Linked DNA regions of Homo sapiens: all the other regions are linked to region 7. Evidence: promoter capture Hi-C in 16 types of primary human blood cells and fetal thymus (Javierre and others, 2016). All regions are on one chromosome and are shown on one strand. Each heading gives the region's core, a stretch centred on a gene start or on the middle of the fragment in contact. The rest is flanking DNA. Distances are from core to core; before and after follow the strand shown.

Region 1 (3,313 bases), core at 337-2,836, 340 kb after region 7:
TTATATTCCCCAGGCTGGTCTCAAACTGCTGGCCTCAAGCAATCCTCCTGCCTCAGTTTCTTAAAGTGCTGGGATTACAGGCGTGAGCCACCATGCCCAGCCTTAGGATGCTTTTTGGAGTCCCTCAGCTGAGATGCAAGTGGGGCACATGTAACTGAGACTCCATCTGCCCTGGGCAGCTTTTCTTTTTTCTTTTTTTCCTCTTTTTCTAATCCAGTATGACTGGTAGTTCCTGGGCAGCTTTTCTGAGCCTTGGGGTACCAGCCTGCCATGAATCTGAGGCTTCTGTTGTCCCCTGCTTTCAATCTGTAAGTAATAAACCTGCTTCATGTAACTTGAGTGTGTCTGTGTGTGTCTGTTTAACTTGACTCAGACAGGTTGAAACCAGTGCACAACGGACCTACTTCTCAATTCCTTTGTAGGCAATCTATTGCTTTTGGAAATGTTCAGAGTTTTAATTGAATTTGATCTTCTTCCACTTCAATATGAGTCTAAATGTGTTTTTTTCCTCAGTTACCCTATTTAGCATTCTATGAGCCCTTTCTATCTGAGATCTTTTTCTCTAATTCTCAGAAGTGTTTCAATGTTATTACTTCATTATTTCCTCCTCTCTGTTTTTTTTTTTTTTAATTCCCTGTCTGGGGAATCCTGTTATCCTGATATGAGCACTCTACTTCTATTCTCCATAGCACTTAGCTCCTTTAAAAATATTCTCTTTGTTCTCTACTTCTGCCTTCTGGGAGAGTTTCTCAGTCTGATCATTTAGCTCATCCATTTATTCTCCAGTTGTAGCCATCTTTTATTTTTCCCAATGATTATGCTCTTTATTTTATTTTATTATTATTTTATTGACACTCTGTCACCCAGGCTGGAGTGCAGTGGCACGATCTTGGTGCATTGCAACCTCTGCCTCCTGGGTTCAAGCAATTCTCCTGCCTCAGCCTCCTGAGTAGCTGGGATTACAGGCTCACACCACCACACCCGGCTAATTTTTGCATTTTTAGTAGAGACGGGGTTTCACCATGTTGGCTAGAATGGTCTTGATCTCTTGACCTTGTGATCTGCCCGCCTCTGCCTCCCAAAGTGCGGGGATTACAGGCGTGAGCCACTGCGCCTGGACAGTTATTTTTTTATGACTTCTTGTTTTTATTTCTATCACTAATCTCTCCTTTATCTTTTTGAGGATTTTATTACCTTAATTTAACTTTTTGGTCTACCAGTTTCAATAACTATGCTTCAAATGGTTCATGTTGGTCTTTTTGGGGGGTATTTTGTTACAATTTCTGTACATCTCAGGTTCTGGTGATTTTGGCTTGTGAGCCTGTGTTTCCTGGGCTGGAGTGGGGGTTGTTCTCAGCTACTGCATCTGGAGGTATTGGGGGAAATCCTCAGTGTGGACAGCCAAAGGCACTGCAGAACTAGTGTCACCATTTTGTTTGCGGTCATTCCGCTGGGCAACATCCTGGATGGGAATTTGCCTTTAAGCTTTATGTTGTGCACATGTACCCTGGAACTTAAAGTATAATAAAAATCTATCTATATATATACAAAATAAAAAAATAAAATATTCACTCATACATGTGGAAAAAAAATAAAAAAATAAAAAAATAAAAAGCAGCTCTGGGAAAAGGCAGTCTCCCTGGATTTAAACCTCCAGCTCTGTGGATTTGCAGTGGGAGGAAGCTTGTTGCCTCAGATCAGCCCCCGACTTACTTGCATCAGCTTTTTATCCTGATAGGCCTTGTGTTTTGCCCTGCTTGTTTCTTCTCTGGAGGCAATTGTATCATATCCTTGTTTTTTTCCAATCCTTAGACCTTGAAAAAATGTTTTCCTTAGTGTAATGGTCAGAACCTTCAAATTAATGTTGAATAAAGTGATAATAGCAAGAATCCTTTCCTTGTGTTTGACTTTAACAGGAACAATTTTAAAGCATTTACTGTTCATTCATTTACTGTTAAGAATAATTTAATGTTAAGAATAAGATTGCAGGCTGGGTGTGGTGGCTCATGCCTGTAATTCCAGCACTTTGGGAGGCCGAGGTAGGTGGATCCTTTGAGCTCAGGAGTTTGAGACCAGTGAGGGCAACGTGGTGAAACCCCACTAAAAAAAAAAAAATAAGATTGCAGTAGGTTTTTGCTTGTTGGTCAAGATGTTCCTTTCTATTCCTAGATTATTAAGCGTTATTATTATAAATGGGTATTGAATTTATTCTGGCATCATCATATGGTTTTAATTTTTAATCTCTTAATGTGGAGACTTACATTAATGTATTTTCTAATGTTAAAGTCATCCCTGCAATCATGACATAAACCCAACTTAGTCATAATTTTTCTTAAGTATAATACTTGATTCCATTTGCTAACAGTTTATTTAGGATTTTGCATCTATAATCATAAGTGAGATTGGGTCTCAATTTTCCTTTCTCATACGATACATTTCTGGTGTTGGTATGTAGGATGATCTGCTTGGTACATGGGTTTGGCTGTATGTAACGGATACCAAAAATAGTGGTGACGTGAATGAGAGGGAAGTTTTTTTTTTCTGTCCTGTATTATCTGGAGGTTGGTGGTCCAGGGCTGGTTTGGTGGTTCTGCTTAACCACCCCTAGTTCGTATGGTCCAAATAGCTCATGTACTTTCTAAGTGGCAGGGTGAAGAAACGGCATGTCTCTGACTTTTGAGCATGAATCAAAACTTGCATACCCCATTTCTACTTCTCTTGGCCAGAACTTAGTCATATGGCTACACTCAGCTGCAAGGAAGGCTGGGAAGTGTGGCCTTTATTTGAACTTAAAAGCAAAGATTCTTTTGCTGTGAAAGACAAGGGGAGAATAGGTAATAGGACAATTAGCAGTCTCTACCATAAAGGTTATTTTATATATGCCACATATGGGCAGTATTTCCTTTTTCTATTTTCTGGAAATTTAAGTTTGTATGATTTTTTTTTCTTTTTTTTTTTGGCTGACTTTTGTTTTTTTTTTTTTTAAATTTATTTATTTATTTATTTTTTAATTGATCATTCTTGGGTGTTTCTCGCAGAGGGGGATTTGGCAGGGCCATAGGACAATAGTGGAGGTAAGGTCAGCAGATAAACAAGTGAACAAAGGTCTCTGGTTTTCCTAGGCAGAGGACCCTGCGGCCTTCTGCAGTGTTTGTGTCCCTGGGTACTTAAGATTAGGGAGTGGTGTTGACTCTTAATGAGCATGCTGCCTTCAAGCATCTGTTTAACAAAGCACATCTTGCACCGCCCTTAATCCATTTAACCCTGAGTGGACACAGCACATGTTTCAGAGAGCACAGGGTTGGGGGTAAGG
Region 2 (3,512 bases), core at 308-2,807, 280 kb before region 7:
AGCACTGATGAAAATGAACATGTAGAAAGGCTGGAAAAGGGCATTTGGTCTAGAAGTCAGCAGAAGCCTGTTCAAAATTCACTTTCTTTGAAAGATAAATACTAGATGATTCCAGTTATATGAGATACCTAGGTAGTCAAACTCAGAGACAGAAAGTAGAATGATGGTTGCAGGGGCTGGAGAGTGGGGGAAATAGGGAGTTGTTCACTGGGTATAGTTTCAGTTTTGCAAGATGAAAATGTGGAGGTTGGTTGCACAACACTGTGAATATACTTAACACTACTGAACCATACATTTAAAAATTCTTAAGATGGTAAATTTTATGTTACATGTATTTTACCACAATCTTTTTAAAAATTATTTCTGAAGGCCAGGCATGGTGGCTCACGGCTGTAATCCCAGCACTTTGGGAGGCTGAGGCGGGTGGATCACCTGAGGTCAGGAGTTCAAGACCAGCCTGGCCAACATGGTGAAACCCTGTCTCTACTAAAAATAGAAAAATTGGCTGGGCATTGTGGTATGCACCTGCAATCCCCAGCTACTCGGGAGGCCGAGACAGGTCGCTTCAACCTAGGAGGCAGAGGTTGCAGTGAGCCAAGATTGTGCCACTGCACTCCAGCCTGAGCAACAGAGAAAAAGACTCCATCTCAAAAACAAAAAATTATGTTTGATTTGTAGTTTCTAGGAATGTTCATTGGGTTTAGTGAAGAGTATAGGCTTTGAAATCTGACAAACTTAGGTTTGAATCCCAGGTCTGTCACTTAACTAGTTTTGTGACCTCATACAAGCTAATTATTGGACCCTTAGTTTCCTAATCTGCAAAACAAGGTGATACCTATATTGGGGATACCTGTCTCTGAAAAAAAAGCTTGAGCCAGAGGCAAGAACTCTGGGAAATTGGTTTCTCTGCTGCTAGTTGTTTTTGGTATGAGTAGGTGTGTGTCAGGGTACCCAAACAGGGCCTTTATTCTGTCACCCAGGCTGGAGTGCTGCTACTTTTTTAGGGTGTGTGTGAGAGAGAGAGACAGGGTCTCAGTCTGTCGCCCAGACTGGAGTGCAGTGGCACATTCATGGCTCACTGCAGCCTCGAATTCTGGGTTCAAGCGATCCTCCTGCCTCAGCCTCCTGAGGAACCAGGACTACAGGTGCTTGCCACCATACCTGGCTAATTTTTTGCAGAGATAGGGTCTCACTTTGTTTCCCAGACTGGTCTCAAACTCCCCTGGGCTCAAGCGATCTCTGGCCTCTGCCTCCTGAAGTGCTGGGATTACAGGTATAAGTGACCATGCCCAGCCTCTCTGCTACTTTTTTTTTTTTTGAGATGGAGTCTTGCTCTGTCACCCAGGCTGAAGTGCAGTGGCGCAATCTTGGCTTGCAACCTCTGCCTCCTGGGTTCAAGTGATTCTCTTGCCTCAGCCTCCCGAGTAGCTGGGATTACAGGCACCCGCCACCACTCCCAGCTAATTTTTGTATTTTTAGTAGAGACAGGGTTTCACCATGTTGGCCAGGCTGGTCTCGAACTCCTGACCTCAAACAATCCACCTGCCTGGGCCTCCCAAAGTGCTGGGATTACAGGCGTGAGCCACCGCGCTCAGCCTCTTGTATTTCTAAGCTACTAGATGGGGTTTTAGTAACTAGTTTACAAAATAGGACAGATAGGACACAAATAACTATTTGTGACTATTGCTGCATTTATGGCCTGGGATAAGCCCTGATTTCTTTGATTAGTCCTCATTCTGTCAATGACCTCCCCTCTCTGTTCTTCAGGGTTAAAGCACGAATTGGGAGCTCTCAGCGACATCACCAGTCAGCAGCCAAAGACCTAACTCAGTCCCCTGAGGTCTCCCCAACAACCATCCAGGTGACATACCTCCCCTCCAGTCAGAAGAGTAAACGTGCCAAGCACTTCCTTGAATTGAAGAGCTTTAAGGATAACTATAACACATTGGAGAGTACTCTGTGACGGAGCTGAAGGACTCTTGCCGTAGATTAAGCCAGTCAGTTGCAATGTGCAAGACAGGCTGCTTGCCGGGCCGCCCTCGGAACATCTGGCCCAGCAGGCCCAGACTGTATCCATCCAAGTTCCCGTTGTATCCAGAGTTCTTAGAGCTTGTGTCTAAAGGGTAATTCCCCAACCCTTCCTTATGAGCATTTTTAGAACATTGGCTAAGACTATTTTCCCCCAGTAGCGCTTTTTTCTGGATTTGCATTCAGGTGTTATTCTTAATGTTTCTGTCAAAGCTTCTTAAAAATCTTCACTTGGTTTCAGCCATAGTTCACCTTCCCTGTTCCAGGTTTATTTAATTCCAAAGGTGAGAGTTGGAGTGAGATGTCTTCCATATCTATACCTTTGTGCACAGTTGAATGGGAACTGTTTGGGTTTAGGGCATCTTAGAGTTGATTGATGGAAAAAGCAGACAGGAACTGGTGGGAGGTCAAGTGGGGAAGTTGGTGAATGTGGAATAACTTACCTTTGTGCTCCACTTAAACCAGATGTGTTGCAGCTTTCCTGACATGCAAGGATCTACTTTAATTCCACACTCTCATTAATAAATTGAATAAAAGGGAATGTTTTGGCACCTGATATAATCTGCCAGGCTATGTGACAGTAGGAAGGAATGGTTTCCCCTAACAAGCCCAATGCACTGGTCTGACTTTATAAATTATTTAATAAAATGAACTATTATCAAATAAAACGTATGAATCAGTCCTTTATAGTTGTCTTTTAATAAAACAGGCATTTGATAATGTTATCTGCACATTTCTAACAGGGTATAGGGCATGAGGATTTGCCTCCAGAGAATTGGTGGGACTGTGTGCATACCCTGGACCTACGACCATACACATACTCCTTGGGACCCTAGCACAAGAAATCCTAAAATCAGGACTGTGGCCCTTGCTCATAGATGCCTGTGTCACCAACAGAAGGCTGCAGAACAAGGATTCTCTCAAGGTTTCTGGGGCAACAGGCCAGGTGGCCAATCAACTCCTAGGCCCAGGGTTATTGTTGGAGGTGTAAATGTTACTATGACTACTGAAACCTTGGTTACTGAACTAAACAGAGGAGCCTGTCAGTCTCCTCAGACTGTATCAAGCAAATCTATAGACATGTCTGTGGAAAAGATGACAAAAGTAGAAGAGGTATGCAGAGTTGGAAGGAGGGGCTGGGTTGAAGTTTGATGAAGTTTCCAGATCAATTTACTATAAGTGCATCTTTTACTGGGAAAGGCTTTTGATGTAACAAGGGTATAATGTAGTTAGTAACAGGAGTGGGAGGCTGTGTCTAGTACACAGTAGGTATTCAAATATGTGTTCTATCCAACCCCTGCGTGTTTTCTTTGATCCATTCTGAAAGTAGAGCTTTCCTCTCCCTATTTCCCCCCAGGAAATTGCTTTCTCAAAAAGGTCTATGTGGCTGGGTGCGGTGACTCACGCCTGTAATCCTATCACTTTGGGAGGCTGAGGTGGGCGGATCACCTGAGGTCAGGAGTTCGAGACTAGCCTGACCAACA
Region 3 (3,146 bases), core at 547-3,046, 340 kb before region 7:
CAGGAATGTCTGCTGCGTGGTATGGTGAGTCTGCGTCTGGTTCTGTTGGGGTTGGGCCAAGGTTGTGGCCGGGGCTGGGGAGGAGGCATCCCCACGGCCGAACTTTGTGAGGTCACCTGTGACAGGAGAAGCTAAATGTACCTGCCTCTTTCACCCCAATACCAATACAGAATTACCTCTTCTGATTTCACATGATTCCAGGAGATCCTGTTCAAAGACTATTAAAGTTCAATTCCTTGAATTACATTTCTTAGTGGCTCCAATTATTGTTGCTCAGCATACACTTAGCACAGTTGCTGCAAGTCAAGGACTAATGTTGAATAACTGTGCAATGCTATGGCAGGAGGCTCTTGGAATAAGGCACCTGCACAATTTCTCTGCCCACTTGTGTTCTCTTTCATCTTCCCTCTTCTTCCCTCCCCTCTTCTCCTCCATGGGGAATACCCCATGCTGGACTTGAAGGACAACGATGGATCAGGGAAAACGGTAAGTCAATGAGGACAATGATAGGTCAGGTAAAAGAAGGAGTGGCAAGGCAGTGAGATTGCCACTGTGAGTAGTAGCATAAAGGGGCAGAGATGAGCAGAGAAGACCACCTCAACCACTGTATTTCCTGGAAAAAGCTAGCAAATGGCTTGAAACTAAGTCAAGATATCACTTTTTTTGGAGATGGGGTCTTGCTATGTTGCCCAGGCTGGTCTTGAACTCCTGGGCTCAAGCAATTCTCCCACCTTGGCCTCCCAAGTAGCTGAGACTACAAGTGTGTGCTACCATGCCTGGCTAAGATATCATCTAGAAATCACAGGGAGACAACACAAAGTGGGATGAATAGGAAAAGCCATGACATGCCCAACTTTAGCAGGATTTTGAATCTACCAATCCTGATTTATCACATCCCTTCTTGCTACCAATCAGGTGTCTGCCATCAATCCCAACACTATCTCCCTTTTTATTTATTTAGTCCCATCCCAATCCTACCAGAATAAGGGTTGCTGGCCAGGCTACCATCCCTCCCAGTCAGCGGAGTAGTGGGTGTGGGAAATGGGATGCTGTAGTAATCCTAGAAAAGAGGGGAAAAAAGAGCAGAGATTCAATGTCACTCATTCCCCAGCATGAGTACTATTTCCACGGAGGAAAAAACAGAAGAATGTGAGAGTTGTGCAATTTATCCAGTCACTAATTAAGCTGGCTAGAGTTAGCACAAACTCCACATTACTCTTGCATACACTGTCCCCCCTGCCTGGCCATGAGCACAGTCAGACAAGGTCTACGGGTATGCCCACTTGAGAATACATCAAAGTCCACGAGGACCAATATTTTCAACCCTCTAGGTGTCATCCCTATCAGTTTATACCAAGCTTATTCTACTGAGAAAACAGATCATTCGATAATTTAAAGTGTCTGGGACAAACAGAAAGCACCCTGAGTGCTCCAGAGTACTTTACTGGGCTATAGAATAGGTTAAAATGTATTTACTAAGATGCCACAACTCTGATTTAAAAAAAGAAAAAAAAAAGGCTGGGTGCGGCGGCTCATGCCTATAAGCTCAGCACTTAGGGAGGCAGAGGCGGGTGGATCATAAGGTCAGGAGTTCAAGACCAGCTTGGCCAAGATGGTGAAACCCCGCCTCTACTAAAAATACAAAAAAAATTAGCTGGGGGTGGTGGTGGGCACCTTTAATCCCAGCTACTCGGAAGGCTGAGGCAGACAATTGCTTTAACCCAGGCGGCGGAGGTTGCAATGAGCCAAGATCACACCACTGCACTCCAGCTTGAGCGACAGAGAAAGACTCTGTCTCAAAAAAAAAAGTTATCTTCTGTTGGAAACCCTCCCCCAAATCCCTATATTCTAATATGCCTTAAATCAGAGTGTATGGAGGGCTGGGATGGGAAAGAGCTATGTCTGTGACGGAGATAATTCTCCCAACACTAATTTTAAGACTACTTTCTTTTCCAAAGCTCTATCCCACATACTCACCAATGGAAATCTTGTCTGAAGCATCTGCAAGTCATCATAACCATATACTTGTGGCTGAAAGATACAGACATATAGCAATAACAGGAACTGGTCATGATGTTAGCAAAACAAGGAGCCAAGAGACAAGCTAATTCAACAGAACATTCATCCTCATTCTGGGTTAGAACAGGACACGGATTATTTCCTTCAATTTTATTTAAGGAAAAAGCAGTAAAGTACACAGAGATTAAATGATTCATGAAAGGTCTTGAAGCTTTCCTTGAGCTAAATACTACTGATTCTAGTAGGCTGGCTTCTTGATACCAATAGAGTAGACACAAAACATACACGAACAACCAGTTTTACTCTCTATTCTACAAGTCTCTGTCTCTTATACTCTTCAAAATCTGGCTTAAAAATAATCTCCTCTGGAAAGAATACTTCACTTTTCTCCAATGTCAGGGTTTTAAGGTAGTGACCACAAATTAAAAATGTGTAACTGTGTTATTTGGATGTGTCATCGGTATGAAATTTATCTAGACTTTGTCTATGAGGGCAGGAACAGGTATCTTCTAAAACGTTTCCATATATCCTTCATCTTAATAGGTACCAAATACTTGAAGGTCACAGAAGATACACTAGGGCAAAAAGCTACTAATGTCAGCCACTTATTCTCAAAGTCCCAGATTGAGTCAGGAAACTTTCCTCTAACCAGGCCAGACCAGCAAACACACTCAGAGTTAGGGATTTAATCAAATCAGAGAAAATAATTCTTGGGGCCAGGAGTAGTGGCTCAGGCCTATATATAACCCCAGTTATTTGAGAGGCTGAGGCAGGAGGACTGTCTGAACCTGGGATTTTGAGACCAGCCTAGGCAACATAGGAAGACCCTGTCTCTAAAAAAATTTTTAAAACTTAGCCAGGCATGGGGATGCACACCTGTAGTCCTAGCTACTTGGGGAGTCTGAGGTGAGAGGATTGCTTGAGCCCAGGAGTTCAAGGCTGCAGTGAGCTAGCTATGATCGTTCCACTGTACTCCAACCTGGGTAAAAGAGCAAGATCTGCCTCAAAAAATAAAATAATAGTCATAATTATCTAAGAAACCAAAAAGGATTCCAGATGAACATTCTGGCCTTTGGCTTCTGAGGCCCAGAAGCTGTGTTTCAAACAGGGCAGATATTCTCATCACA
Region 4 (3,247 bases), core at 219-2,718, 310 kb before region 7:
TTATTCAAACCCTGAATACTCCATCACACCAAGAAGGCTGTTCAACAGGGCACCAGAAAGGCTAGAGAGATTTCGAAATCTTCTTGTTCAGATACTGACATGTCCCAAAAATAAAGGGAAAAAAAGGATATTCTTATCTCAGTAACAGAAAACAAATAAATGGATAGTGTGGACTTTGATTCTAGGCCTTGTTCATCTTTACAAGCAGTGGCTTGATTAATTCTGGCTATCTTTTCAAAAGGCAACACTACCCTAACATAAACACTAGAAAATACACTTGGACCTAATAGCAGTGACATAGCATAGTTGAAAGGGCATGGACTTTCAGGGTCAAACAATGCTGAGTTCAAATACTAGCAAATTTATAACCTCTCTTTCGGCCTTAGTTTTGTCATCTGGAAAGTGATGATAAATAATGATTATTTCATACAATATCAAGCAGCATTAAGCGAAATAACATGTGTAATGTGCCCATATGCACGTTACATAAACAGTACACACAGTAATACAACTGCCAGCCCTTTCTCACCCTATCTCCATAACCAAACACTATTCTTCCACGTTTTAATGTAAGTATAATCAGAAAAAACTATTTCCTTAGATTCCCAGAGACAAGAAATGAATGATAAATGGTCACTCACTCGTCCCATCATCTGGTTCAAAGTGGCCAGTGTTGTTCCACGTATTGCCGCTGCTATTGCCATAGTTATCATCAGTATTGGCTGGCTCTGCATAATCAGCTGGGTTAAAGGTTCTGGAAAAAATAAAACTTAAGAGTCTCTGACCTCTAAGCAGCTTTGGCAAATATTAACTCAAAGAATCAAAATCTTGACTGCATCCTTCCTAGTACAAATCTGTCATGGCCCCATTCTATAATCCTGTGTGTCATCTACTTTTTCTCACTTATCACTCTACCCAAAATTTCATGGTATAATCTCAACATATATCTAAGATATTCTGAGAAAAGAACAGGTATATTGATTCAAATAAAGATATATAAAATATAGGTAATGATCCAGGTGGTAAAGGTTTATCCCTAAGAAATGAGCCCTAAGTCCCCATATCTTTCTGACCAGTCTAGAAATCATTCTGATCATTTTGGTTAAGGCTGCCTACAGTAATTTTTAAGGGAAAAAAAATTAAGACACTAGATCAATGAAACTTACCCCATTCCTTGAGCAGAAAACCTTCCTCCTCGCCTACCAGAGCCACCTAAAGAAAGAATGAGAAAAAGAGAAGAGAGATGTATTTTAGAAGTTGATATAAAACTTCCTTGCCAGGCAGGCACAGTGGCTCCCGGTGGTAATCCCAGCACTTTGAAAGGCTGAGGGCGGGCGGATTGGTTGCATCCAGAAGTTCGAGACCAGCCTAGGCAATAGAGCAAAACCCTATCTCTATAAAAAGTACAAAAATTTGCTGAGTGTGGTGGCACACACCTATAGTCCCAGCTCCTTGAGGGGCTGAGGCAGGAGGATCACTTGAATCCAGGAGGCAGAGGCTACAGTGAGCTAAGACCGCACTACTGCACTCCAGCCTGGGTGACAGTGAAACCTTGCCTCAAAAATACAAAAAACTACCCTGCCAGCTGAGGCAGCTCTGGAATAAAAAGTGGTTGATACTATCAGATGTTCTTTCTCTCTGTCCCATGTTACACATCAGTAATAGAGTAGGACAATCATTACTGTTGAGAGATTTTTCTTTTGCTCTCAGACTACCATGTCCTCAAGCAAATACAATACTAGCAATAAAGACTAGAGGAAATGACATCTACCTTCTTTCTCACTCTCCCCTTCTGCAATCTCTAGTATATGCATGACACCTCAGGAATTAACTAACTAGACTTCATGTTAATTTGTTTTTAAACAAAGTAGACCCTGGAGCCAAGTGCTGTCTCTCACACCTATAACCTCAGCACTTGGAGAGGCCAAGCAGGAAGATCTCTTGAAGCCAGGAGTTTGAGACCACCCTGGGCAACATATTGAGACTCCATCTCTACAAAAGCATTTAAAAATTAGCGAGGCGGGCGCATCACTTTAGGTCAGGAGTTCGAGGCCAGCCTGGCCAATGTAGTGAAAGCCCATCTCTACTAAAAATACAAAAATTAGCTGGGCGTAGTGACGCACGCTTGTAATCCCAGCTACTTGGGAGACTGAGGCAGAAGAATCGCTTGAACCCGGGAGGCAGAGGTTGCAGTGAGCCAAGATCGCGCCACTGCACTCCAGCCTGGGTGACAGTGCGAGACTCCATCTCAAAAAAAATTAGCCAGGCATACTGGCGGCCACCTGTAGTCTTAGCTACTAGGGAGGCTGAGGCAGGAGGATCACTTGAGCCCAGGAGTCTGAGGCTGCAGTGAGCTATGACTGTGCCACTGCACTCCGGCCTGGGTGAGAGTGAGACTACCTCCAATAAAAAAAAAAAATAAAGCAGACCATTAATGAATAAAGAGTAACCTGCCCCCAATATCCATCCCCCAACAAACTGATCACCTCTGCCTCGGCCACGGCCCCTTCTGCCTCTTTCTGTTCCTCTTCCAGAAGGCCCTCCACTCTTGGTGCCATCCAATCCATTTTCCTGACCTCGAACTGAAATAAAAATAAAAATTAAAACAACAACAACAACAAAAAAACCAAACCACAGATGGCCAGAGCACAGTCAACAGGATATATACAAATATATAAATGGTATGTAATATGGTATTGGGAATTAAAAAAACAACGAAGAGAAAATGAGCTGGAAGGATGGGAACATGTTTCTCAGGGAATGGTAATGTGCCTTAATGGAGAGCTGCAAGTCAAATTTAACTTTATAAATGACTACAGGGTAATCTCATGCCAGACTGGTGGCAGTTGGTAGAAAAGGCCACATGCAAGAGATGTCAAGGTCTCAGAACAGACGACGGCAAGAAAAGCAAAAGGATAATATAATGGTTCCTAGGTCCTGACTAGCAGGGCCCTGGCACATCCCTAGAGTCTAGACATTACTGACCCACAGCTGGTTTTGATAAAGCCCCATGCATACACTCTCGTCCACGGCTGGCACCTCTCCCCCGTCTTGGTGGCCCACCACGTCGCCGACTATAGTCTCTGTCCCGGTCTCGATTTTCTTTGCCTTCCTCATTGGATTCCGTCTGGCCACCATCCTTCTGGCCTGAGACTCCCTTCTTCTTCCCGACCATCTCCCAGGAATGCTATAGAAGGGTAGAGCATTCATATCTAATCAATATGGAGTGCTATCAGGACACTAGAGA
Region 5 (3,009 bases), core at 338-2,837, 260 kb after region 7:
GCGTTTTGGGAGGCCCAGGCAGGTGGATCACTCGCATGCAGGAGTTTGGGACCAGCCTGGGTAACATGGTGAAACCCTGTCTCTAGAAAAAATACAAAAATTAGCTGGACATGGTGGTGCATGCCTGTAGTCCCAGCTACTTGGGAGGCTGAGGTGGATGGATCGCTTGAGCCTGGGAGGTAGAGGCTGCAGTGAGCCTTTATCATGCCACTGCACTCCATCCTGGGTGATAGACCTTGTATCATAAAAATAAATAGCCAGGTGTGGTGGTTCACTCCTGTAGTCTCAGCACTTCGGGTGGCCAAGGTGGGAAGCTCACTTGAGCCCAGGAGTTCCAGACCAGCCTGGGCAACATGGAGAAACCCTACTTCTACAAAAAAATACAAAAATTAGCTGGGCGTTGTGCACGCTTGTAGTCCTAGTTACTCGGGAGGCGGAGGCAGAATTGCTTGAGCCCAGGGGGCGGAGGTTGCAGCGAGCTGAGATTGAGCCACCGCACTCCAGCCTGGGTGACAGAGGGAGACTGTCACACACACACACACAAGAATGTAAATGGCAGCAACTGAATAGTGAGAATGAGACGAATTTTCCTAGGTATTTTTCAAGTACTGGGAGAAGTGAATTTCCCTTTCCCCAAAGAATTTTAAAATTACAGTGGCTTTCACTGTGTTGAGGACTTACAAAAAAGGGCAAAGAATCACTGTTGGTAAGATATTCTTTTACCTGAGCATTCTGTAGAATGTTGTTAACCAAGACAACGCGTCGCCGGGCATTAAGTAGCTTCTTAACATAGGGGTCAAGATCCAGGGCCACCTTCTGATCCTCATTTATGCGGCACAGTTCTGGGGATGGAAGTAAGGTGCAGCTAAGATCTAACGGCTTATCTCTTGTTCTGAGGGAAAGCAGGCTGGTAATGGGATGGAAAACACTTGCACCCAAACGGGCCACAGCCATTAGAGATTTAAGACATCCCTGAAAGGAGGAGTCCTTTGGCAGCCCTGATGCCCTGGAAGCAAGTGACAGAAACTCAGCCCAGGGGTTGGCAAAAACCTAAGGTCCTGAAAGTGGGCTGAAGAATTCCGGGTACACAGGGATGCTCACTCACCTGTGGCTAGGTTGTCAATTTGTTCCCGGAGCTCTACCTGGCTCTCTCTGCAAAGAGGTACAAGGCCTACAAGGTCAGGCAGTTACCGGAGCTCAGGAAACGAACTCCCCTACGTATTTACCAAGTACTGAGAGAAGCCGGCCTCCGCTGAACCCTCCACCTGCGGCCTTCCCGCCTGTCCTCCCCGCCTCGAATCAGTTTCCTAAATTTATGCCCACTCCCAGCCAGAACACTTTCTTGGCCCCGCCCCTACAAAGCCAGAGAGACAGGCCCCGCCCCCAACTTCCCTCCCGGGCACCTGACGGCGTGTACGTGAGAGTCGAGCTGCTGCACAGCGGGTCGCAGGAACTCCAGCAGCCCTTCGGCGAAAAGGTCGCGGCCTGTGGGCCCCGCCACCGGGGTCCCTGCCCCCGATACAGCGGCGGAACCAGCCCCCGCCATCACGAATTGTCCTGAAGCCCGAAACCTGCCGCGAGGGCCGCCGGGAACCGGAGCCGCGCCGCACTGCCCCGCCCCGTGAGGGGGCGCCCGGGAAATGCTGTCTCCACCAAGACACCGGGGTTTCTGGGAAATGGAGTCTAGCGCGAACCGGGCGGGGAGGAGGGCCAGGCCGTAGGAGTAGAGGCCTTGTGGCTGGTCTTGAAAATCTCCAAAGTTCAGGTTGTAGAAAGGAACCAGTTTTTGGAGTGGATACTTTTCGTTTTCTTTAAAGGTGAAAATAAACGCGAATACCTGCAGTTGTCCATAGCCTTCCCATGTTAACTTTATGAGATAGCCGGGCATGGTGGCGGGCACCCAGCTACTTGGGAGACTGAGGCAGGAGAACCGCTTGAACCCGGGAGGCGGAGATTGCAGTGAGCCGAGATCGCGCCACTGCACTCCAGTCTGGGCAACAGAGAGACTCCGCCTCAAAAAAAAAAAAAAAAAAAAAAAAAGCAACCCAAACCAAACAAAAACAAACCAAAAACAAAAACACTTTATGAGAAAGCCACATTATATTCATAGTATCGTTTTCTATTTCTAAAGAGTTTATTGTGGTTGGTTGTTTTTAAGACAAGGTCTCTCTCTGTCGCCTAGGCTGGAGTGCAGTGCCACCGTCTTGGCTCACTGTAGCCTTCACCTCCTGGGGTCAAGAGGTCCTCCTGCTTCAGTCTCCCAAGTAGCAGGGACCACAGGTGTTAGCCACCATGCCTGACTAATTTTTCATTTTCTGTAGAGAAGAGGTCTCACTATGTTTGTTGCCCAGACTGGTCTCGAACTCCTGGGCTCAGGTGATCCTCCCAACTCAGCCTCCTAAAGTGCTGGGATTACAGACGTGAGCCACCACGCCTGGTCTATTTCTAAAGAGTATATTTTTAATGGCATTAAATATGTAAAAAACTGCATGTATCCGAATTTCATTCCTTTTTAAGGCTGAATAATATAAACATGCAGGCAGGGCATGGTGGCTCACTCCTGTAATCCCAGCACTTTGGGAGGCTGAGGCGGGAGGATCACCTGAGCCCAGGAGTTCGAGATCAGTCTGGGCAACAAACCTAGTGAGACTCTGTCTCTACAGGAAATAAAAAATTAGCCAGGCGGCCAGGCGCAGTGGCTCACGCCTGTAATCCCAGCACTTTGGGAGGCCGAGGCGGGTGGATCACGAGGTCAGGACATCGAGACCACGGTGAAACCCCATCTCTACTAAAAATACAAACAATTAGCCGGGCGCAGTGGCGGACTCCTGTAGTCCCAGCTACTCGGGAGGCTGAGGCAGGAGAATGGCGTGAACCCGGGAGGCAGAGCTTGCAGTGAGCCCTGATCGCGCCACTGCACTCCAGCCTGGGCGACAGAGCGAGACTCCATCTCAAAAAAAAAAAAAAAAAAAAAAATTAGCCAGGCATGGTGGCTCACAGCTGTGGTCC
Region 6 (3,353 bases), core at 733-3,232, 280 kb after region 7:
CCCTGGCCAGGGCCCCTATGGGTCGGCCTAACCGTGCCTGGATGTTACTCTTACCCAGGCGCTGCTTTAAGCTCTTCTGGAAGAAAAGGTGTTAGGGGATTGAGATCAAAAAAGCAATCCAACAGGATTTGGCAACTCAAAGTGCAGAGAAAAAGAAGCAAGTGAGATGCTGGTGTGAAGGGAGATAAACCTGTTGTGGGTGTCAAAAGGATCCCAAACCAGAAGCAAGCCTTTGCCTCAGAACATGTTATACAAGCAGCAGAATTTTGATCCAGAGCAGAAACTCCAAGAAGCTCAAGTGTGGTCCCATGAAATGGGCATCTCCACAAATTACCTCACTAGTTTGGCTACAGAAGTCATACACTGCCAGTTGAAACTTAAGTTTTCGTAAGAACATTCTATAGTTCAATCCTGGATTGTACTGCTTTTGAACTACAGGTTGACAATTATATGACTTGATTCATACCTGCCCATGGACTACCACTGTCTTCAAAGGCTTACTCAAACACCATAGGAAGTTCATCACACTCTGGGCAAAACTTAAATTACAAGTTCACTTGAGTTCTTGTGACTTAAGAACAAGATTGATTTCTCAAAAAGGCCCGTGTGCTCCATTTTTCCTCTGAGAATCTATTTCCAGACGGTCCACTTTTTACCTTAAGATGTAAATAAACACAAGAAAGTCAAATCTCCTTTCCTTACATTTCTTAAAAATCCCTAATTCCATGCCTGCACTTGCAAACAGCTCCTTTAAAACAATGATGACCTTAAATTAAAAATAAACATGTAACTCAAATGTATCTCCACAGTCAGCCAGCCAAACGTATGTTAGAATTATTCAGGTGATCACAAAACTCAGGGCCATATATAAGAACAAGGACACACTACAGAGATAGGGTATTTTTAAGAATCTGTTCTCAAAAGAAAACCATTAAGACTACATCTCAGAGAATTAAATTCCTTCAAAGGAAAAAGGGACAGCAATAGCCCTGAACACAACCAAGCTCCTAGTAAGCCTGGCTGTCCATAAAGCCATCAGTCAATCTGAAAGAAAATAAATTGTATAGCCCCTTCAGGCTTCACCCACAAGTGACTACCAACGTGTATGTGTGTGTTTTCTAATCAACCTCTCAAAAAGATGCTGTGAAGCATTATTAACTTTCTAGCACAAGATCATAAATTGCTTCTCATCAGTGGGGAAGGCTCCAAACATTATGCATCTAGCATAAGTAGGTGTAACCAACCGTAACGGCCTGTCCTGTTACTCCCGATTAACACACAATTATCAGGTTAGAACTGCATTCCACAAGTCTCTTGCGTTCAGTTATCCTGCATATATTAATTCTCCCAAGCTTTGTGCTTTAAAAGAACTGTACAGTGCTGGGAAGTTCTTTACCCATTCCAATCCTTAAGTGCCACCAATACCGGCCTTTAATATTAACAGGGAAGTTAAGGATGTCAACTATACCACTTAGTTTCCCTTCTAGAGGTGTGCTGTGTAAGGCAGCCTCTATAGCTACATGTGGCTATTTCAATTATTTTTATTTTGAGATACAGTCTCGCTCTGTTGCCCAGGCTGAAGTGCAGTGACACGATCTTGGCTCACTGCAACCTTCGTCTCCCAGGTTCAAACAATTCTCCTGCCTCAGCCTCCCGAGTAGCTGGGATTACAGGAGCTGTCATCACGCCTGGCTTATTTTTGGTGGAGACGGGGTCTTGTCATGTTGGCCAGGCTGGTCTTGAACTCCTGACCTCAGGTGATCCACCTGCCCAGGCCTCCCAAAGTGCTGGGATTACAAGTGTGAGCCACCATACCCAGCCTAAATTAAAAGCAAATTTTACTTATTTTCTTGAGACAGAGTCTCACTGTCACCCAAGCTGGAATGCAGTGGTGCCAACTCCACTCACCGCAACCTCCACTTCCTGGGTTCAAGAGATTCTCCTTAGCCTCTTGAGTAGCTGGGATTACAGGTATGCGCCACCATGCCCGGCTTTTTTTTTTTTTTAGTAGAGATGGGGTTTTGCCACATTGGCCAGGCTAGTCTCAAACTCCTGACCTCAAGTGATCCGCCTGCCTTGGCCTCCCAGAGTGCTGGGATTACAGGCCTGGCCTAAAATTAAATTAAAAAAAATTAAGCTCCTTAATTGCACTAGTCACATTTAAAGTTTTCAATAGCCACATGTGACTAGTGGCTACTGTACCGGAGAGCAAATACAGAACATTTCCATCATTGTAGAAAGTTCTGGCTGGGCACGGTAGCTCATGCCTGTAATCTGAACACTTTGGGATACTGAGGCAGGCAGATCACTTGAGGTCAGGAGTTCAAGACCAGTCTGGCCAACATGACAAAACTCCGTCTCTACTAAAAATACAAAAATTAGCCGGGTGTGGTGGCGGGCGCCTGTAGCTGAGACAGGAGAATCGCTTGAACCCGGGAGGCGGAGGCTGCAGTGAGTTGAGATTGCACCACTGCACTACAGCCTGGGTGACAGAGCAAGACTCCGTCTCAAAACAAACCAAACCAAACCAAACCAAAAACATAAAAAAATTCTATTTAATAGTACTACTCTGGATAGGGACTACTTCCTGCAGAGCCTATACTTAAAGCTTCTTGTTGAAAGGTCCTTTGGAATGATCTGTCAGAGATTCATCTTCAGCAACTTCCATTTACTCTTGGAAAATGGTGCCTTTTGCTGCTTTCCTGAGTCAGGGAGGAATCCAGTCACTCCAAGGCTTAAGGTAGCCGAAGCAGACACCCTTGTTTATTTTTGGTCAGTGAGCCCAATGGTTCAGGGTGGGGGTGTAAGGGTGTTATATTTAACTGCTGAATTTATGCATAGCCATGCAATGCTACCAAAGCCCTTACAGTTGCATGGCACTGCCCTCCAGACGCCCAGCCACAGCTTGGACATATCCTTCCACAGCCACTGTCCGGACTTGCATATAAATTCTATGAATAATAAAGAGCAGGTTTTATTTCAGGTCTGAATAGGATTATCTCTCACTGTAAATTTGAAAAAGAGAACCCCTAACTCAAATTACTCAGTATTCTTGCTCCACTTTACTGGTAAAACTTTAGGTGCTGTGGAAATGAGGGTCACTCTACTCTGTATATTTTAGCATTGAAAACCTTTGACTGCTGGGCGCGGTGGCTCAAGCCTGTAATCCCAGCACTTTGGGAGGCCGAGGCGGGTGGATCACGAGGTCAGGAGATCGAGACCATCCTGGCTAGTATGGTGAAACCCTGTCTCTATTAAATATACAAAAAAATTAGCTGGGTGTGGTGGCGGGCACCTTTAGTCCCAGCTGTTCGGGAGGCTGAGGCAGGAGAATGGTATGGACCCGGGAGGCG
Region 7 (3,389 bases), core at 403-2,902:
GGCGACAGAGGGAGACTGTCTCAAAGAAAAAAAAGAAAAAAAAAATGGGTGCGTCTGTGTTTGTGTAGGATCTACCTACGGCTTTAAGTTGCCATGTCCTCCATTATAATTTCATTTCCATTGCACAGCATGACTTTTAAATAATTTAAAAAACATGTTCAAATACCTGTGGAGGCTGGCGTGGTGGCTCACACACCTGTAATCCCAGCACTTTGGGAGGCTGAGGCAGGAGGATCACCTGAGGTCAGGAGTTCGAGACCAGCCTGGCCAACATGGCGAAACCCCGTCTCTACTAAAAACACAAAAATTAGCCGCGCGCCTGTAATCCCAGCTACTCGGGAGGCTGTTGAGGCAGGAGGATCGTTTGAACCTGGGAGGCGGAGGTTGCAGGAACTGAGATTGTACCACTGCACTCCAGCCTGGGAGACACAGTGAGAAAACAACAATAACAAAATGCCTGTGGAACCAGTTGTTTCTGGGTTTAAACCACTGCTTAGTCACTAACTAGCGGTCTGACCTTTGGCAAGTTACTTAACCTCTCTGAGCCTTAGTTTCCTCATCTACTTGGGTTCAAATTTCAGCTCTACCACTTAACGTGTAACTGGACAAATTTTTTGATCCTAATTTTCCTCATTTGTAAAGTAGGGATAACAGTACCTACCTCACAGTCATGAGGAATAAATACTTCATGTAAAGTTCTTAGCACAGAGCCTGACACAGTCTCTTTCCAAAAACGTTAACTACTATCATAACCTTAACACCCGGACTCTGTTACTTGGTCCCTATCCTCAAGGTGCTCCAGAAACGCTCGCTGAGTTTAGGCGGGCCTAACTGCTCCGTGGAAGCAGGGAGGCCAGCAAAAGGAGCTGGCCCTTGAGTTAATTAGGTGGAATCGGGCGGGGTGGGAGGCTGTTTCCTCGCTGAGAACCTAACCAGACCAGGAGTTCCCAAGAGAAGGAGCTGCGAGGGCTCTGCACACCGTAATTCCTCAGCAACTTGGCTAGCTGCTTTTTTTTTTTTCCTGCTGTCGTGGTTTAGTCACGACAGGACCAAGCGGAGGTACGATGAACACCAGGAAGCTCAAAGCCTTTGGCAGACGGAGACAGGCCACACCCCAAAAAGACGGCAAGGCTCAAGCGCCTAAAGCTAGTTCTATCGTGAAATTTCCTAGAGTCTGTCGCGACGAAACACCGCCCACCGCAGACCCCATCGCCGTTCGCCAGTCTCCATCTTTAGAATTGAAAGAATGAGAGATGGCCAAAGGGGAATCCCGGTTTGGAGAGACTGGGGTACGGCGGCTGCCTGGGGACCAAAACGTCTCTAAGGTAAAGTTGCAGCCTGAAGCGATTTTTTGACCCCCGACACTTAATGGGCTGTCGAAGACCCGGATGTGTCTGGGACTGGCAGAGGTACCCATTAACGCGCCCCCGCTAGACCATCCCCCCTCCTCCGTTTATGATTGGGTTTTAAGCACGCCAATCATCACTTCTCCGGCCACTCATTCTTCAAGGGTGGGGTGAAGTCCCGGCATCTAGTCTTCTACTGGCATGGCCGAGAAGATGAGGGCGGGGTGGCCGGCTTAGGTCGCCCAATGGGCGTCGTGGCGTGTGGGTAAGGCGGAGCCGAGGCGCTTGGCAGCTGCCCAATCAGCGTCCTTGTTTGTGTGGTGCCGCCGCCGCCGGTGCAGCCGTCGCCGCCGCCGCTGCCCCCGTCTGTACCGCAGTGTCTGCTCCGCCCGCCCGCCCCGGTCCGGCCCGCCCCCCTCCCCTACCCCCGTCCCTAGTCCCGTCAGCAGGGTCTGGATCCCCTGTGCCGTCGCCTCTTCCTTTTTCGACGCCTCCGCCGCCGCCTGAGGAGGCGAGCTAGCCGGGAGTTACACCGCCACCGCCAGGTGAGGAGCTTTGGCCTAGGCCAGCCTGGCCGCCCGCCCGCCCGGGGGCGGTGAGGAGCGAGGAAGGGAAGGAGGCTGGGAGGAGGCAGTGGTGGCGGAGGTGGGGGAAGGGAAAGGTGGAGGGGCGGGGGGAGGGGAAGCGCCCGCGAGCCGACGCCCGCCCGCGCGCCCCCGCCTTGCGTCCCCCTCCCCCCACCCCGGCACGGCGCGCCCCCGCCTCGCGCTCCTTCTTCACCTCATCCTCTCCCCCCTTGGCGCGCGCGACCCGGTCTTTCACTTCGGCCTCGCGCGCCCCCAGCTCGTGTCCCTTCATTTCGTCTCCTTGTACTCTTTCTCCCCTCCCTCACGCCCCGTTTCCCCCGCCATCCCCGCTTTCACTCCCTGCCTCATGCCCGCCATGCTCCCCTCCTTTCCTCTCTAGCGCGCCCCCCCCTTTTTTTTTTTAACTCTCTCCACCCCCAGTGGTGCCCTCAGGGTGCGGGGGCCGCTCCCTGCTCAGTCTTGTGTTTGCGGGCGGATGGGACGAATGGGGAATCTAAGGGTAAAGGAAGCACCAGATAATTATCTTTATTTAGGGAAAGGGATCAGGAGCGCATAACCTTACCCCTTTATTTCGTCGTCCACCGTTCGCTCGCCCTCCCGTAGGGGAAGAGAATTGTCTCAGGCTATGTGGGCACTTAGCTTCTACAGCGACTGGGCTTGTGGGACACACTGGATCTGTCTTCCAGTTCAGTTCCTGAGGGTCGGTGGAACTTACCCTTCCCTAACCACACCGGGACTTAGAGTACTTTTGGCCTCCCTGCTCTCAATTACATTGAGGAGCGAGCCACTCATGCGAGTGCAGAGGTTCAGGTGCCATTCGCGCGCCCGGTACAGCTTTCCCGTTTCATAAAGGTATGGTAGCCTCTTTGGATTCTTCCCCAGCATCAACTTCCAAACACAAGATGTTAGCTCATAGGGCTGGCAGTGAGGTGGAGATGGAGGCTTGGTGGTGGGTGGCATGTGGATGCTAACTGAGCTAGCTAGCAACCTTTTCTCTGTTGTCCCCTGGAAAATCAGGTAGCCTCCTGAGAACCAGTTTTCTCATTTCTGATAAATGCTTATTTGGGGGGCGTGTGTGTGTGCGTGTGTGTGTGTGTAAGAGAGAGAGAGAGATGGGGGGATACTTAATACATTTCAGCAGAGGCGAAGGATACTTAATATATTTCAGCAAAGGGCAAGAGCAGTGTTTTCAGGCCAGACTGCAAAAGAGGGATTTGGATTTGTAGCTGATGGAATTAAAACAGGTTTAACAGATCTGTGTTGGAGAAGAGCTGATGCTTTTGTAGTTTTTAGGACATTTTTTCTAAAAATTTATATTTTGAGTAGAAAAGCATGCATGTGGTTGTACAAAGTGAAAAGTAAGCTTCCTTCCCATCTCTGTCCTCCAGCCATCTAGTCTCCTTCCCCTCCTAGCACAGATGACTTTGATGTTTTCTGGCAGCAGCATGGTGCCTAT

Evidence for each region. The method cuts DNA at HindIII sites, captures the fragments that hold promoters and counts their contacts. A CHiCAGO score of 5 or more calls a contact.
Region 1: a contact is called between a fragment that was not itself captured here and the fragment with the promoter of GATAD2B in region 7, in 1 of 17 cell types (total B cells). The highest score is 7.2, in total B cells.
Region 2: a contact is called between a fragment that was not itself captured here and the fragment with the promoter of GATAD2B in region 7, in 1 of 17 cell types (total B cells). The highest score is 5.8, in total B cells.
Region 3: a fragment that was not itself captured here is called in contact with the fragment with the promoter of GATAD2B in region 7 in 6 of 17 cell types (total B cells, activated CD4 T cells, total CD8 T cells and 3 more); the score reaches 8.5 in total B cells.
Region 4: a contact is called between a fragment that was not itself captured here and the fragment with the promoter of GATAD2B in region 7, in 4 of 17 cell types (total B cells, total CD8 T cells, naive CD4 T cells and 1 more). The highest score is 7.0, in total B cells.
Region 5: a contact is called between the fragment with the promoter of SNAPIN here and the fragment with the promoter of GATAD2B in region 7, in 1 of 17 cell types (M2 macrophages). The highest score is 5.2, in M2 macrophages.
Region 6: a fragment that was not itself captured here is called in contact with the fragment with the promoter of GATAD2B in region 7 in 3 of 17 cell types (naive B cells, total B cells and monocytes); the score reaches 6.4 in naive B cells.

The regions. Positions count from the first base shown.
Region 1 is chr1:153,583,588-153,586,900 of GRCh38, reverse strand. No RefSeq gene overlaps it. Among named protein-coding and RNA genes, the nearest start is that of S100A2, 19 kb to the right of the region's middle. RefSeq lists an enhancer at 2,894-3,313. The HindIII fragment of the contact is 198 bases long and covers 1,488-1,685 here.
Region 2 is chr1:154,205,904-154,209,415 of GRCh38, reverse strand. It overlaps LTAP1 (lipid transport auxiliary protein 1), which reads left to right. Exons shown (of 7, transcript NM_001098616.3): 7 at 1,768-2,696. The coding sequence ends at 1,963. CFAP141 (cilia and flagella associated protein 141) reads left to right here and starts at 3,083. Exons shown (of 4, transcript NM_001010979.3): 1 at 3,083-3,141. The coding sequence starts at 3,109. The HindIII fragment of the contact is 1,373 bases long and covers 871-2,243 here.
Region 3 is chr1:154,257,862-154,261,007 of GRCh38, reverse strand. UBAP2L (ubiquitin associated protein 2 like) reads right to left here. Exons shown (of 27, transcript NM_014847.4): 21 at 1,978-2,031; 22 at 979-1,060; 23 at 1-116. SNORA58B (small nucleolar RNA, H/ACA box 58B) reads right to left here and starts at 1,281; the gene lies at 1,146-1,281. The HindIII fragment of the contact is 872 bases long and covers 1,361-2,232 here.
Region 4 is chr1:154,234,531-154,237,777 of GRCh38, reverse strand. UBAP2L (ubiquitin associated protein 2 like) reads right to left here. Exons shown (of 27, transcript NM_014847.4): 5 at 3,019-3,187; 6 at 2,487-2,582; 7 at 1,167-1,212; 8 at 642-754. Among named protein-coding and RNA genes, the nearest start is that of UBAP2L, 15 kb to the right of the region's middle. The HindIII fragment of the contact is 7,636 bases long and covers 1-3,247 here.
Region 5 is chr1:153,657,281-153,660,289 of GRCh38, reverse strand. It overlaps SNAPIN (SNAP associated protein), which reads right to left and starts at 1,587. Exons shown (of 4, transcript NM_012437.6): 1 at 1,404-1,587; 2 at 1,106-1,152; 3 at 724-842. The coding sequence starts at 1,546. RefSeq lists an enhancer at 1,742-1,821. The HindIII fragment of the contact is 14,460 bases long and covers 1-3,009 here.
Region 6 is chr1:153,638,966-153,642,318 of GRCh38, reverse strand. CHTOP (chromatin target of PRMT1) reads right to left here. Exons shown (of 6, transcript NM_015607.4): 4 at 1-73. Among named protein-coding and RNA genes, the nearest start is that of CHTOP, 6.6 kb to the right of the region's middle. The HindIII fragment of the contact is 1,256 bases long and covers 1,355-2,610 here.
Region 7 is chr1:153,921,235-153,924,623 of GRCh38, reverse strand. It overlaps GATAD2B (GATA zinc finger domain containing 2B), which reads left to right and starts at 1,652. Exons shown (of 11, transcript NM_020699.4): 1 at 1,652-1,891. LOC101928059 (a long non-coding RNA gene) reads right to left here and starts at 1,251. Exons shown (of 4, transcript XR_922160.3): 1 at 662-1,251. RefSeq lists silencers at 577-871, 1,549-1,868 and an enhancer at 1,179-1,418. The HindIII fragment of the contact is 8,959 bases long and covers 1-3,298 here.